4 separate regions of the Homo sapiens genome follow, and regions 2, 3 and 4 are each linked to region 1. The links are contacts of gene promoters, found by promoter capture Hi-C in human tissues and cell types (Jung and others, 2019). All regions are on one chromosome and are shown on one strand. The core of a region is centred on a gene start or on the middle of the fragment in contact, and the rest is flanking DNA. Distances in the headings are between cores, read along the strand shown. Region 1 holds the start of TTBK2 (tau tubulin kinase 2). Region 2 overlaps STARD9 (StAR related lipid transfer domain containing 9). Region 3 overlaps SNAP23 (synaptosome associated protein 23). Region 4 overlaps STARD9 (StAR related lipid transfer domain containing 9).

Evidence for each region. The method cuts DNA at HindIII sites, captures the fragments that hold promoters and counts their contacts. A contact is called where the count stands out against the background at its distance.
Region 2: a contact is called between a fragment that was not itself captured here and the fragment with the promoter of TTBK2 in region 1, in 2 of the 25 tissues and cell types used here (adrenal gland and mesenchymal stem cells).
Region 3: a fragment that was not itself captured here is called in contact with the fragment with the promoter of TTBK2 in region 1 in 1 of the 25 tissues and cell types used here (IMR-90 fibroblasts).
Region 4: a fragment that was not itself captured here is called in contact with the fragment with the promoter of TTBK2 in region 1 in 2 of the 25 tissues and cell types used here (IMR-90 fibroblasts and stomach).

What each region holds. Positions count from the first base shown.
Region 1 is chr15:42,919,518-42,922,452 of GRCh38, reverse strand. It overlaps TTBK2 (tau tubulin kinase 2), which reads left to right and starts at 1,675. Exons shown (of 15, transcript NM_173500.4): 1 at 1,675-2,015. RefSeq lists enhancers at 1,054-1,153, 1,356-1,856, 1,857-2,357 and a silencer at 1,674-2,083. The HindIII fragment of the contact is 10,494 bases long and covers 1-2,801 here.
Region 2 is chr15:42,620,551-42,623,261 of GRCh38, reverse strand. The region is part of intron 3 of STARD9 (StAR related lipid transfer domain containing 9); the gene reads right to left. Among named protein-coding and RNA genes, the nearest start is that of STARD9, 46 kb to the right of the region's middle. RefSeq lists an enhancer at 2,599-2,711. The HindIII fragment of the contact is 4,446 bases long and covers 1-2,711 here.
Region 3 is chr15:42,517,176-42,520,140 of GRCh38, reverse strand. All of the region lies in intron 5 of SNAP23 (synaptosome associated protein 23), which reads right to left. Among named protein-coding and RNA genes, the nearest start is that of SNAP23, 23 kb to the right of the region's middle. RefSeq lists a silencer at 1,803-2,003. The HindIII fragment of the contact is 6,914 bases long and covers 1-2,965 here.
Region 4 is chr15:42,594,804-42,597,885 of GRCh38, reverse strand. All of the region lies in intron 3 of STARD9 (StAR related lipid transfer domain containing 9), which reads right to left. Among named protein-coding and RNA genes, the nearest start is that of STARD9, 21 kb to the right of the region's middle. The HindIII fragment of the contact is 3,561 bases long and covers 1-3,082 here.

The DNA.
Region 1 (2,935 bases), core at 426-2,925:
TCTCAAAGTGCTGGGATTGCAGGCATTAGCCACTGTGCCTGGCCCCTATAAACTTCTTTAATTTTAAAGAAAAATATTTACAGAAACCCTAATGTTTTCTTATTCAAATTATGTGATTGGTCAATACTCTGAAATGAATGAAGTACTCTATTAGACATAGTAATAGAAAAAGTAACGTGTGGTTTTAATCAGTAGAAATAAAAAACAATTTGGCAACATCTTTATGTTTGCATAGAACAAGATGAGCTGCATCATCACTTGCCTTTAATGTACATTTTGTCCTGCTTTCAATCCAAGGATCTGGACATGACAGAGAGTAGAGATGCCTGCTGTTTTTAAAAAGAATGGCAAGAGGCTGTGGCACTTCCTGAGCAAGAAGAAACAGATTCTATAGGAACAGTTCCAAGATTGAATATAGGATTAGTCATTTACCTTTCTATATTCTTAATCAGCTTTAATGACAATGTCACTTGAGTGAAGAAAAGGATTTAAAGTAAAAATGAAGTTCATAATTCATTACATTCTTTCCATTCATGGCAGAACCCTGGGGATCATTGTGATTCTTAAGTAGAAAGGACATTAGATGTGGGGCGTATGAGAGACCTGAGTTTTGGTTTTGCCACTGATTAGTTTATAGCCTTAGGAAAGCTGTTTAGCGTTTTTCATGTGTTTTCTCTACTGTACACTGGTGGGCAAAGATGGGAGAGGTGCTTAATCTTAAGGTTTTCCTTCGCCAAAGCGACTGACACAACACTAAATAGAAACGCATCCTGCACAGCGTCCTTGCTCCGCCCTCCTCGCTTTTCTTTGAAAGTCTTTGAGCACCTCCCGCATACACTTGCTCAGCATCGCATACTGGTGTGCACCGGGGCTGGCCATTGAGTCTTTAGCTGGTGGTGTTTCACAAAGGGAATGAAATCTTGTTCTTGGGTTGTGAAACCGTAAGGACACTCCGGTCTCCAAGTTGACATTCGTTTATGGAAGTGCCCATCTCCTTTCCTCGTCACACCTAAGGCCCTTCCCCAGTCCCCCAAAGATGATTAGCTTCACGTTAGGCGGTTCTGGGGACGGCGCCAATTTGCGGGATGCTGTCAGCGCTGATGCTGAGGAAGAGGATGGATCCTTAAGGCTTGCAGGGCCTCACGATTTGGGCCCTTCATCGCGACTGCCTCAGTGTGTAATTTCGTATCGTGACAAAGCATTTCCGATTTTATTCCGAAAAGCCCAACCATGGGGTCCCAACCATCCCTCTATAACCAATTTAACTGTCACGCTAGGAGAACACCTATGTGCGCAAACTACTTGTCTCGGAAGCCCTACTTCTCTCCTCGGGACAGGCGGGGAGTTGCGGCTATGGCTGGAACTACGAGGCCCAGAATTCCTAGGCGCATGCGCGCTGCCATTGTGATGCTCCTTTCCCGGTAACTCGCCCTCTCAGGCAAACCTGAAGATAGCGGCAATTCTCCGGTGGGGGGCGGAGACGGTTTCTGCCCGACTCTCCGCCCCCTTCGTGATAGGCAATGGGACTAGCCAACCGACGCTGCGAGTTCGGAACGCACTCTCCAATCAGCACCTGTAGCGGAGAGGTGGGCGTGCGCGCTGGCAGGGCAGGTGGGCTAGGCTGTGTCGGGTTACGAGGGGGGAGAATAACGTCGGGTCGGGTCAGCGGGCTCTGCAGTAGTCGCCGCAGCGGCGATGGGAGCGGTGGGGACGAGGCGGCGGCGGCGGCAGGAGGGGGAGCAGGTGCTGGCACAAGAGCAGCGGCTTGGGGGAGCCGGCAGCAGCAGTAACAGCAGCAGCAGCCGCCGCCGCCGCCGCCAGTAAACGCGGACGGTACCCCAGGGGACTACCCAGCCGGCCGGCCCTGGAAGCCGCGCTCGGGTCCCGCCGCAGTCGGCGGTGGGGGATGGGCAGGCAGTGGCGGTCCCGCCTGCCGAGGGTTAACCCCCGCCGGTCCCGGTCCTGAGCTGGACCAGAGCCCTCCTCCAGAAACCCCTGCGTCCGCCACGGCCCAGGTAGGACACACCCCCCGACCCCCCAGGGCGCCGCCCTCCCCCAGTCTCGACCCCCTCCTCCGGCCGCACCCCTCGCCGAGTGACCGAGCCTGCTGAGGAGGGGAGGGGTACCGGGGACTTTCAGTTCGCTGCAAGCCCGGGGCTCGTGCCAGACCCCGTCACTCTCCATCTCGGAGATCGTTCTGGTTCTGCCCGATTTCCCCGAAGGCTGCCGCCTCGTTTTGCCCCAGGCTTTGGGTGTCTTCACTGAACTTGGAGGGTCACGAAGCTTCGTTCTGCGTCTCTCTCTGTGGGTGACCCACATATCACTTGTACCCATGCCACTTCTGGTACCAGCACCGAACACGAAGGATTCCTAGGAAATCTGAGCGCTTATTTCCCACCCCGCCTCCCCAACTATCATGGAAAGGAACATGGGACTACTGAATCTGTTTGCTGTGTTGTAACGACAGTGAAGGCCGCGACTTTCTTGTACTTAGGGTGCTGAAGTAATGATCTGAGGGATTTGCTCGTCATTTGCTGTGGCAGAGATGATGTTGACACCCTGGGATGCTGTGGGAGGGACAAAAGACTCACGTATATGTTCTGTCAAATCGGAGAAGTAAATAATCCATTGGGATGCCAGGATACTTTATTCTACAGCGAAGTTAATTTTGTATCCGTCGAGGCTACAGTAGAGGTAAAAATGACATTGAGTTGTACTTTGCTTTGAATTAAAGTTGATGGGTAGCAGCAATCCTGGTATTAACTCTTCTCTCTCATCGCTTTAGAAATTATTCTTTCTTTGAACATTAAAGAGGACAGTTTTATTATACACTTCTAATAATGTGAAGATGTTTTGTAATTCAGTAGAAATTGAGTTTCTGTGTGTGTAGGAGGGTCATGTTATGAATGGGCACATGTAGACACACACGCAGAGG
Region 2 (2,711 bases), core at 21-2,520, 300 kb after region 1:
TTTTTTTTTGAGACAGAGTTTCGCTCTTGTTGCCCAGGCTGGAGTGCAATGGCACAATCTCAGCTCACTGCAACCTCCGCCTCCCAGGTTCAAGCAATTCTCCTGCCTCAGCCTCCCAGGTAGCTGGGATTACAGGCATGCACCACCACACCCAGCTAATTTTTGTATTTTTAGTAGAGGTGGGGATTCTCCATGTTGGTCTGGCTGGTTTCAAACTCCCGACCTCAGGTGATCTGCCTGCTTCCGCCTCCCAAAGTGCTGGGATTACAGGCGTGAGCTACCACGCCTGGCCCTGATCTGCATCTTAAGCTATACTTACTTATTTCAAAGCACACTTTGAGAGAGGTCCCTACCTTGAAGCCCCACATAATGTCCCCAGATAAAGGCCTCTCTTCAGTGAGGTTGACCCCAGGACTGTATCACCATAAAATATAAAATGTATCCTTTTCATTTCAATCCTTCAGAACATCAGAGCTCTGGACAAAACAGGAGAACAACCATGTCACATGACTCCCTCTGAAAAATCTTTGTACTTCCATTTGTCATCTCTTAATACCTCACTGTCAACCTTGGAAAGTTCATAGTTACAACTAAAGATCTCCCACCTCAGGAACAACAGATACCCAGGCAAGTAACCACAGAGACAGTCAAACAAATCTCTCTGCCCCACCCCTTCCTTCAAGTTAGTTTTATTTGAACAAGGAAGTATGGATCCAAAACGGAGAGACATCCGCTGGGCAGTGGCTCATGCCTGAAGTCCCAGCTAATCAAGAGTCGGAGGTGGGAGGATCACTTGAGCCCAGGAGTTCAAGGTTGCAATCAGCTATGATCATGCAGCTGCGCTCCAGGGTAAGCAACAAAGTGAGACCCTGTCTCTAAAAAAAGAGAGAGACAGAGAGAGAGAGAGAGAGGGAGAGAGAGAGCGAGCTACAGGTGATAATGAGAAACTTGGCTTTCATTTTTCATTATTCTTTTTCTTTGTTTTTTGTTTTTAAGGGTCTCACTCTGTCTCCCAGGCTGGAGTGCAGTGGTACAATCACAGCCCACTACAGCTTTGAATTCCTGGGCTCAAGGAGTTGCCGTGGCCTCCAAGTAGCTAGGACTACAGTTGCACACCACCACAGCCAGCCTCATCATCAGATAAAGGAGTTATAAATTAGGAGAGGAAGAAAGCAAGAATGAATTATTTTCCTTTAATGTAGAGTCAAGGAAACAAAAAAGAATGAATTGTATGGTATTAGATCAGAATCAGTGAGAATTCATAGGCTTCAATATAGATTGAAAAAGAAATAGATAAATGTATGTGTATATATATGAAAATGTATATGCAAATATATATTCCCTAGCTTTGTCTAACTTTACCAAGAGGACCTGAAAACAGTGATACCCCAACAGAAATGATCACATCTAGCACCCAGAACTTGGTTTCTAAATATCATTTTCCACTAACAGGAACAAAATGAGCATCACAATTGTTAAGTTTAGCCTAAAGCTGTCTCCTTGCAGATTTTAAGTTTGTCCTAAGGGTTTCTCCATACATAGTGATTATAACCTAACTAAATGTATAAACAGACTGTAACCTACTTTTGTAACAAGTAGCCAAGTTTCAACCAATCACAGACAGCCAACTGTTCAAACTGTGTTCAAATGAAGAAAATGAGCTGTAACCAATCCAGCTGTTTCTGTACCTCATCCCTCTGTTTTCTGTATGTCACTTTCCTTTTTCTGTCCAAAAGTGTTATCCAACCATGTGGCAGCCTCAGGCTGTATCTGAACCTATCGTAGTTCTAGGGGCTGCCTTATTTGTAAATTCTTCTTTGCTCAATTAAGCTCTGTTAAATTTGTCTAAAATTTTTCTTTTAACACAATAAGCAATGATAGTAACAGGTTGTAATCCACTGTATAAAATGAGAAACCATGAATCAAAGATATAATATATAATATAACCATGGATCACAGATATAAATAATTTGAAAGTCTGATGAGGGCCGGAATACATAGTTTCAAAGTACTTCCTACAAAATATTTATTAAATACAAAATATTTATTAATTACAAAGAAGAGAAAGAGTAACTTTACAGTGAAAAAAATCTGGCAGACACCACCTTAATCAAGCAATCAAAGTAAATTCAGTGATACTGGTATCAAGGATACATAATCTGAATGTAATCATGAGGAGACACTGGACAATCCAAATTAAGGGACATGTATACCAGGTGGTGGCTCACCCCTATAATCCCAGCACTTTGGGAGGCTGAGGCGGGTGGATCACTTGAGGTCAGGAGTTCGAGACCAGACTGGCCAACATGGTGAAACCCCATCTCTACTAAAAATACAAAATTAACCAGGCATGGTGGCAGGCACCTATAATCCCAGCTACACAGGAAGCTGAGGCAGGAGAACTGCTGGAACCTTGGAGGTGGAGGTTGCAGTGAGCCAAGATTGTGCCACTGCACTCCAGCCTGGGCGACACAGGGAAACTCTGTCTCCAAAATAAAATAAAATAAAATAAAATAAAATAAAATAAAATAAAAGGGACATTCTACAAAATAATTGGCCTGTAATCTTCGTAAGTGTTAAGATCATGAACATCAGGGAAAAACTGAGGACCTATTCCAGACTGAATTAGACTAGAGTTAAGATAACTAAATGCAACAAGTGATGCTGAACTTAATCTTTTTGCTGTAAGGATCTTACTAGGACAATCAGTG
Region 3 (2,965 bases), core at 181-2,680, 400 kb after region 1:
AGGCAGGGGTTGCAGTGAGCTGAGATCACACCACTGTACTCCAGCCTGGTGATACAGCAAGACTCTGTCTCAAAAAAAAAAAAAAAAAAAAAAAAGCAAGGGGGTTCTGCCTGGTTTTGAATCCCAGCTCTTCCACTACATAGTGTAGCCTGGATGTAAAATGATAATAATAAAAAACATCTATCTCATATTAAGGCTACTGTTTAAGGATTAAATTAACATGTTCAGAATAGTACCTTAAATTAATGCACAGGCCCACAACTGTTACCCCAATCCATTGGGGGCAAGATGTTTTGGACAGTACCACATAATTAAATACATTAATATTTCTGTAGTGACGTTGCGTGTGGTGGCTCATTTCTGTAATACCAGCACTTTGGGAGGCCAATGTGGGAGGATTGCTTGAGCTTAGGAGTTTGAGACCAGCCTGAGCAACATAGTGAGAACTCATCTCTACAAAAACTTTTTAAAGTCCAGGTACGGTGGCTCATGCCTGTAACCCCAGCACGTTGGGAGGCCGAGGTGGGTGGATCACTTGAGGTCAGGAGTTCAAGACCATCCTGGCCAACATGGCAAAACCCCGTCTCTACTAAAAATACATTAGTTAGCAAGGTGTTGGTGCATGCCTCTAATCCCAGCTACTTGGGTGGTTGAGGCATGAGAATCGATTGAACCCAGGAAGCGAAGGTTGCAGTGAGCCGAGATTGTACCACTGCACTCCAGTCTGGGTGACAACGTAAAACTCTGTCTCAAAAAAAAAAAAGAAAAAGAAAAGAAAAGAAACAGGGTCAGGCATGGTGGCTCATGCTTGTAATCCCAGCACTTTGGGAGGCCGAGGCAGGCGGATCACCTGAGGTCAGGAGTTCAAGACCAGCCTGGCCAACATGGTGAACCCCCATCTCTACTAAAAATACAAAAATTAGCTGGGCGTGGTGGCAGGCACCAGTAATCCCAGCTATTTGGGAGGCTGAGGCAGGAGAATCGGTTGAACCTAGGAGGCAGAGGTTGCAGTGAACTGAGACTGCATCACTGCACTCTAGCCTGGGCAACAGAGTGAGACTCCGTCTCAAAAAAAAAAAAAAAAAGAAGAAGAAACAAAAGTTTTTAAAAACAAACCAGGCATGGTGACATGCACCTGTAGTCCCAGCTACTCATGAGGCTGAGGTGGGGGGATCACTTGAACCTAGGAGGTCGAGGCTGCAGTGAGCCAAGATCATACCACTGTACTCCAACCTGGGTGACAGAGTGAGACCCTGACTCAAAAAGAGTATTTCTGTAGTGAAACCAATTAATATCTACAGCAAGTAATAAAGACTAAACATAGCTTCAGTTCAGGTTACATTTTATACCCTAATGAGTTGTGGCACCATTACAGCAAAAATAAAACAAAACTTTAGGAGTTTTTTAGATTTCTGAATGGCCAGCAGGGCTTAATGGCTCATGCCTGCAATCCCAGCACTTCTGGAGGCCAAGGTGGGTAGACTGCCTGAGCCCAAGGGTTCAAGACCAGCCTGGCCAACATGGTGAAACCTTGTCTCTACAAAAGATACAAAATTAGCTGGGTGTGGTGGCATGTGCCTGTAATCCCAGCTACTCAGGAGGCTGACGCTGGAGGATAGGTTGAGGCTGCAGTGAGCCATGACTGCCACTGCACTCCAGCCTGGGTAACAGAGCGAGACCCTGTCTCGAGAAAAAAAAAAAAAAAAAAGAGAAAGAAAAGAAAAAGTATTTCCAAATGGCAAATAAGGAACTCTGGACCTGACCTGGGTTGTTACTGCTACTGCTGGTATGAAGACTAGGCCTTACACATAGGACTAAGATCTCATGTCTACCTTTAAGAAGCTCATGTTATGGTTATTCATGTGACGAGCCTAACTGAAACACAGACTAGCAGATTAGAAAGATCAAGACACAGGCAAGAATGATAGGAACAGAGCTGAGGATAAGAGATATCATACTGGCCAAGGTCTCAATGGTGTAAGAAAGAAATAGGTGGAAGAAAGACAATTACAATCAGACATCTTTAACTGAGATAATACTTTCTTCTCTTAAGGGAACTGTTTTGTTACAGCAGCCCCTTGATTCCATCTCTCAAGAAGTGCCAGAAAAAAAAAAAGAAAGAAGTGCCAGTTGGGTGCAGTGGCTTAAGCCTGTAATCCCAGTGCTTTGGGAGGCTGAAGTGGGAGGATTTCTTGAGGCCAGGAGTTTGATACAAGCCTGGGCAACATAGCAAGACCCCTGTCTCTACAAAAAATTTCAAAAATTAGCTGGGCATGGTGGCACACACCTGTAATCCTAGCTACTTGGGAGGCTGATGTGGGTGGATTGCTTGAGCCCAGATGTTTGAGGCTACAGTGAGCTATGGTGGCACCACTGCATTCAAGCCCGGGAGACAGAGGGAGAGGCCATCTCTAAAAAAGTAATGCCTTCTCTTGATCCACTGAGAAAGGGTTCTACTGAGGTTAGAGGCTGAAGAATGCTGATTCAGGACCATACCCTACCTTGTTTCCCACCAGTCTTCAAGAAAAGCTTGCCTATGCTTGGCTGGGATACACAAAGAGACATAAAATTAATACTCTGTAGCTGCATTTCCCACTTTCTATGATATTAGACCATCTTAGGTCTAATTCAGTGCTCTTCCTATTTATCAACACGTGACTTAGAGCTGATCTTCCTCTAAGATTTTAGGGGAGACTTCTTTCTCCTTGTTCTCCTAACATCTGATCTCAAGAAAATTCATCTACTTCCTCTCTTCTGTACTCTTCCAAGAAGGTACATGGAACACAAGAGAAAGGTACAATTATGTTTGTAAAACATAGCTAAGAGTTTGTATCAAATAATCTGTACATTTTAACTTGTTTGCTTAAAGTAATCTGCTAAACTCTGATTGACAAGTCATAGTTATTAAAATATGAACTTTTGGCCGGGAGCAGTGGCTCACGCATGTAATCCCCGCACTTTGGGA
Region 4 (3,082 bases), core at 400-2,899, 320 kb after region 1:
AGCCTGGCCAACATGGTGAAATCACATCTTTATTAAAAATACAAAAATTGGCCGGGCACTGTGGCTCACGCCTGAAATCCCAGCATTTTGGGAGGCTAAGTCGGGCAGATCACCTGAGGTCAGGAGTTCGAGACCAGCCTGGCCAACATGGTGAAACTCTGTCTCTACTAAAAAATACAAAAATTAGCTGGGCATGGTGGCAGGTGCCTGTAGTCCCAGCTAGTTGGGAGGCTGAGGCGGAGAATTGCTTGAACTCAGGAGGTGGAGGCTGCAGTGAGCCGAGATCGTGCCACTGTGCTCCAGTCTGGGCAACAGAGCGAGACTCTATTTAAAAAAACAAACAAACAAAAATTAGCCAGGCATGGTGGCAGGCACCTGTAATCCCAGCTACCTGGGAGGCTGGGGCACGAGAATCGCTTGAACACAGGAGGCAGAGGTTGCAGTGAGCTGAGACCGCACCACTGCACTCCAGCCTGGGTGACACAGCGAGAATCCATCTCAAAAAAAAAATAAATATACATATATATGCATGCACCAGGTGCGGTGGCTTATGCCTATAATCCCAATACTTTGGGAGGCCAAGGTGGAGCCCAGGAGTTCAAGACCAGCTTGGCATTACAAAATTATCCAAGAGTAGTAGTACACACTTAAGGTCCCAGCTACATGGGAGACTGAGGTAAGAGGACTGCTTAGGCTGGGGAAGTTGAGGCTAAAGTGAGCCATGATCACGACACTACACTCCAGGCTGAGAAACAGAACGAGACCTTGTCTCAAACAAACAAAATATATATACACACACACACAATCGTAAACAGAATCAAAACAAAAGTATAAACAGGGAAAATGTTTGTAGTATCTATGACAGATGAATCAATTTCCTTAATATGCTAACTCCTTTGAAAAATAAGAAATAGATGCTATCTAGAAGGATACCAAAAGAATTGTAAACAATGGTTACGTTTAGAGAATAAGATGAGTGGGAGGTATAGAAAGGGAAGGCTTTTCTAGTTTTACCATTATAGTCTTCTGTACTGTTCGAATATTTTGCAATTATCTTACATTGCCTTTAAGCAAAATATTTTAATAAGCTAATCAATTAGCTGACATTTTCATTTATGCCGTTATCTGCTTTCTGCTGAGCACAGAAATAGAAACCATTTTTTCCCAAAACTTTCTCTGAACCCTTTTCTGAATGTTGTATTTAGAAGGAGCCTTTTGTTGGTCAGCTACACTGGCTCCCCCAAACAGAGGACTACAGAAATGGGGTTAAGAGGGTACTTGGACACAGGCTTACTGTGCAAGTATGTGGGAAGAAAATTTAGCACCTGTTAGCAGTCTGCCTGTGCATGCCTGTCTACTGTGGTGGACATACAGATCTTTTGCTCAAAGGGCTGCTGTTCATTTTATATCCTCTCGTTTAGAAGATTTTGCAAATCATTTTGTCCAAAGACTCTCAAAGTAATCATCACCATCATCATACTTCTCTTCCTCAAGCAATTAATTGACAATCGCTTTAAACCCAGGACAAACCCAAGTTTAAGGTGCAAAGGGTGAGTATAAGGAATTTTCAGCATTGCAGATCCAAGCAAGAGAAAAATGGGGTAACATCAAGGACAACTGTCTTAGGAACTCTCCATTTATGCTTAGGCTGCCCTTGGTCATCTGCAAATGACTATCAAGCTTTGGGCATGTCTCCCCTACAGATAACCTCTCTCTCCAGCCTGGATCTCAAGGGCTCTAGCTACCACAAGGAATTTCCATTACCCTTGTCTTACAGGGGGAAAAATCCACATAAGCTTTGGCATTTTAAAAGATTTCTCTAGTTTCCACTGTTCATTTTTGCATAGTCATGTGCCACGAGCAGCAAACATTGTCAAGAATCTCTGTCTTTCAGATGTTTCTACGAGTCTGAAAATTACTCTTTAAAGATTCACAGTCAAGTTTCTAAAGACGGAAAAAACAAGTTAGATTAAAATCCAGCTCACAGACATGCTTATGGAACCAAACAGCTGTGCTGCTGGCAGAGGGACATACTGAAACACTCATGGTAACCCCTCCCATCTTCCACTCAGCTCTGCAGAGCCCCATCTGATTACTGCACAAAAAGGCTTTTTCTTATAAACTTCTCTCCCTTCGACTTCTGTCTCCATCTTGGTTGGAAAAAAACCAGCACTAGTGATGGAATGTACAAAGCTCTGCAAATATTCATGAGAAAATGCTGCTTTGAATCCACATACTCCCCAGCTCCCCTAGCACATACATGCATCAGAAAAAGGGGATGCACAAAGAAACTGATTGGCATCTGTGGTTCTTTAACTTAGGCAAATTATGAGGCCTTCCCAAAACAGGCAGCAAAATTCAAGAAGGCAGAGTCCTATCTTGTCAGTCATACATTGAACCTTTAATTGAATAATTAATCTAATAGCCATTGATTGATAATGGAAGATGTGCAGCACTGGAAATACAGGAATAGAGTTGTATGTGGTATAGTGTGCGAGAGCTTGGACCATGGAGTCACATAGTCAAGGTTTGATTGCTGCGTCCATCACTTGGTTGTATGACCTTAAGCAATAATGCAACAAATCTGAGCCTGTTCCTATCCCTAAAATGGAGATACCTGCTGTAAAAAAGTGACACAATCCTAACAGTGCCCACCCCTCTGTGAGCTCTCAAATTCCTCCTCACCTTAGTTTGTTCCTCATGTTTCCCTCTCCTCTAGCCCCTCAAAGGTCCCTCCTCAGTTTCAGTCATTCTTCCACCTTCCCCAAAACCTTCATTCACACTCCAAGTTCAGCAGATACAAGAAAAGTAAGGCATAAAAGAAGGGAAGGTCACACTCCATCTCTCCAGCTCATCCTGCGTACTTTCTGAGGCAGCAGATAACAGATCACTTGTTATCATTTTGTAATGGGTTGGGGTTTCCCAAACAGAAATGCTGCTTTTATGGCAGCAGTATCTAATCACACCTGGTCACATTAGAGAACGCATAACAACAGGTATGGAATACTTCCCCATACTACTAGATGGCAATAGGGCAATTTCCTCATCCCAGTTGACTACAGAGCCAGGGACAGGTTAGATC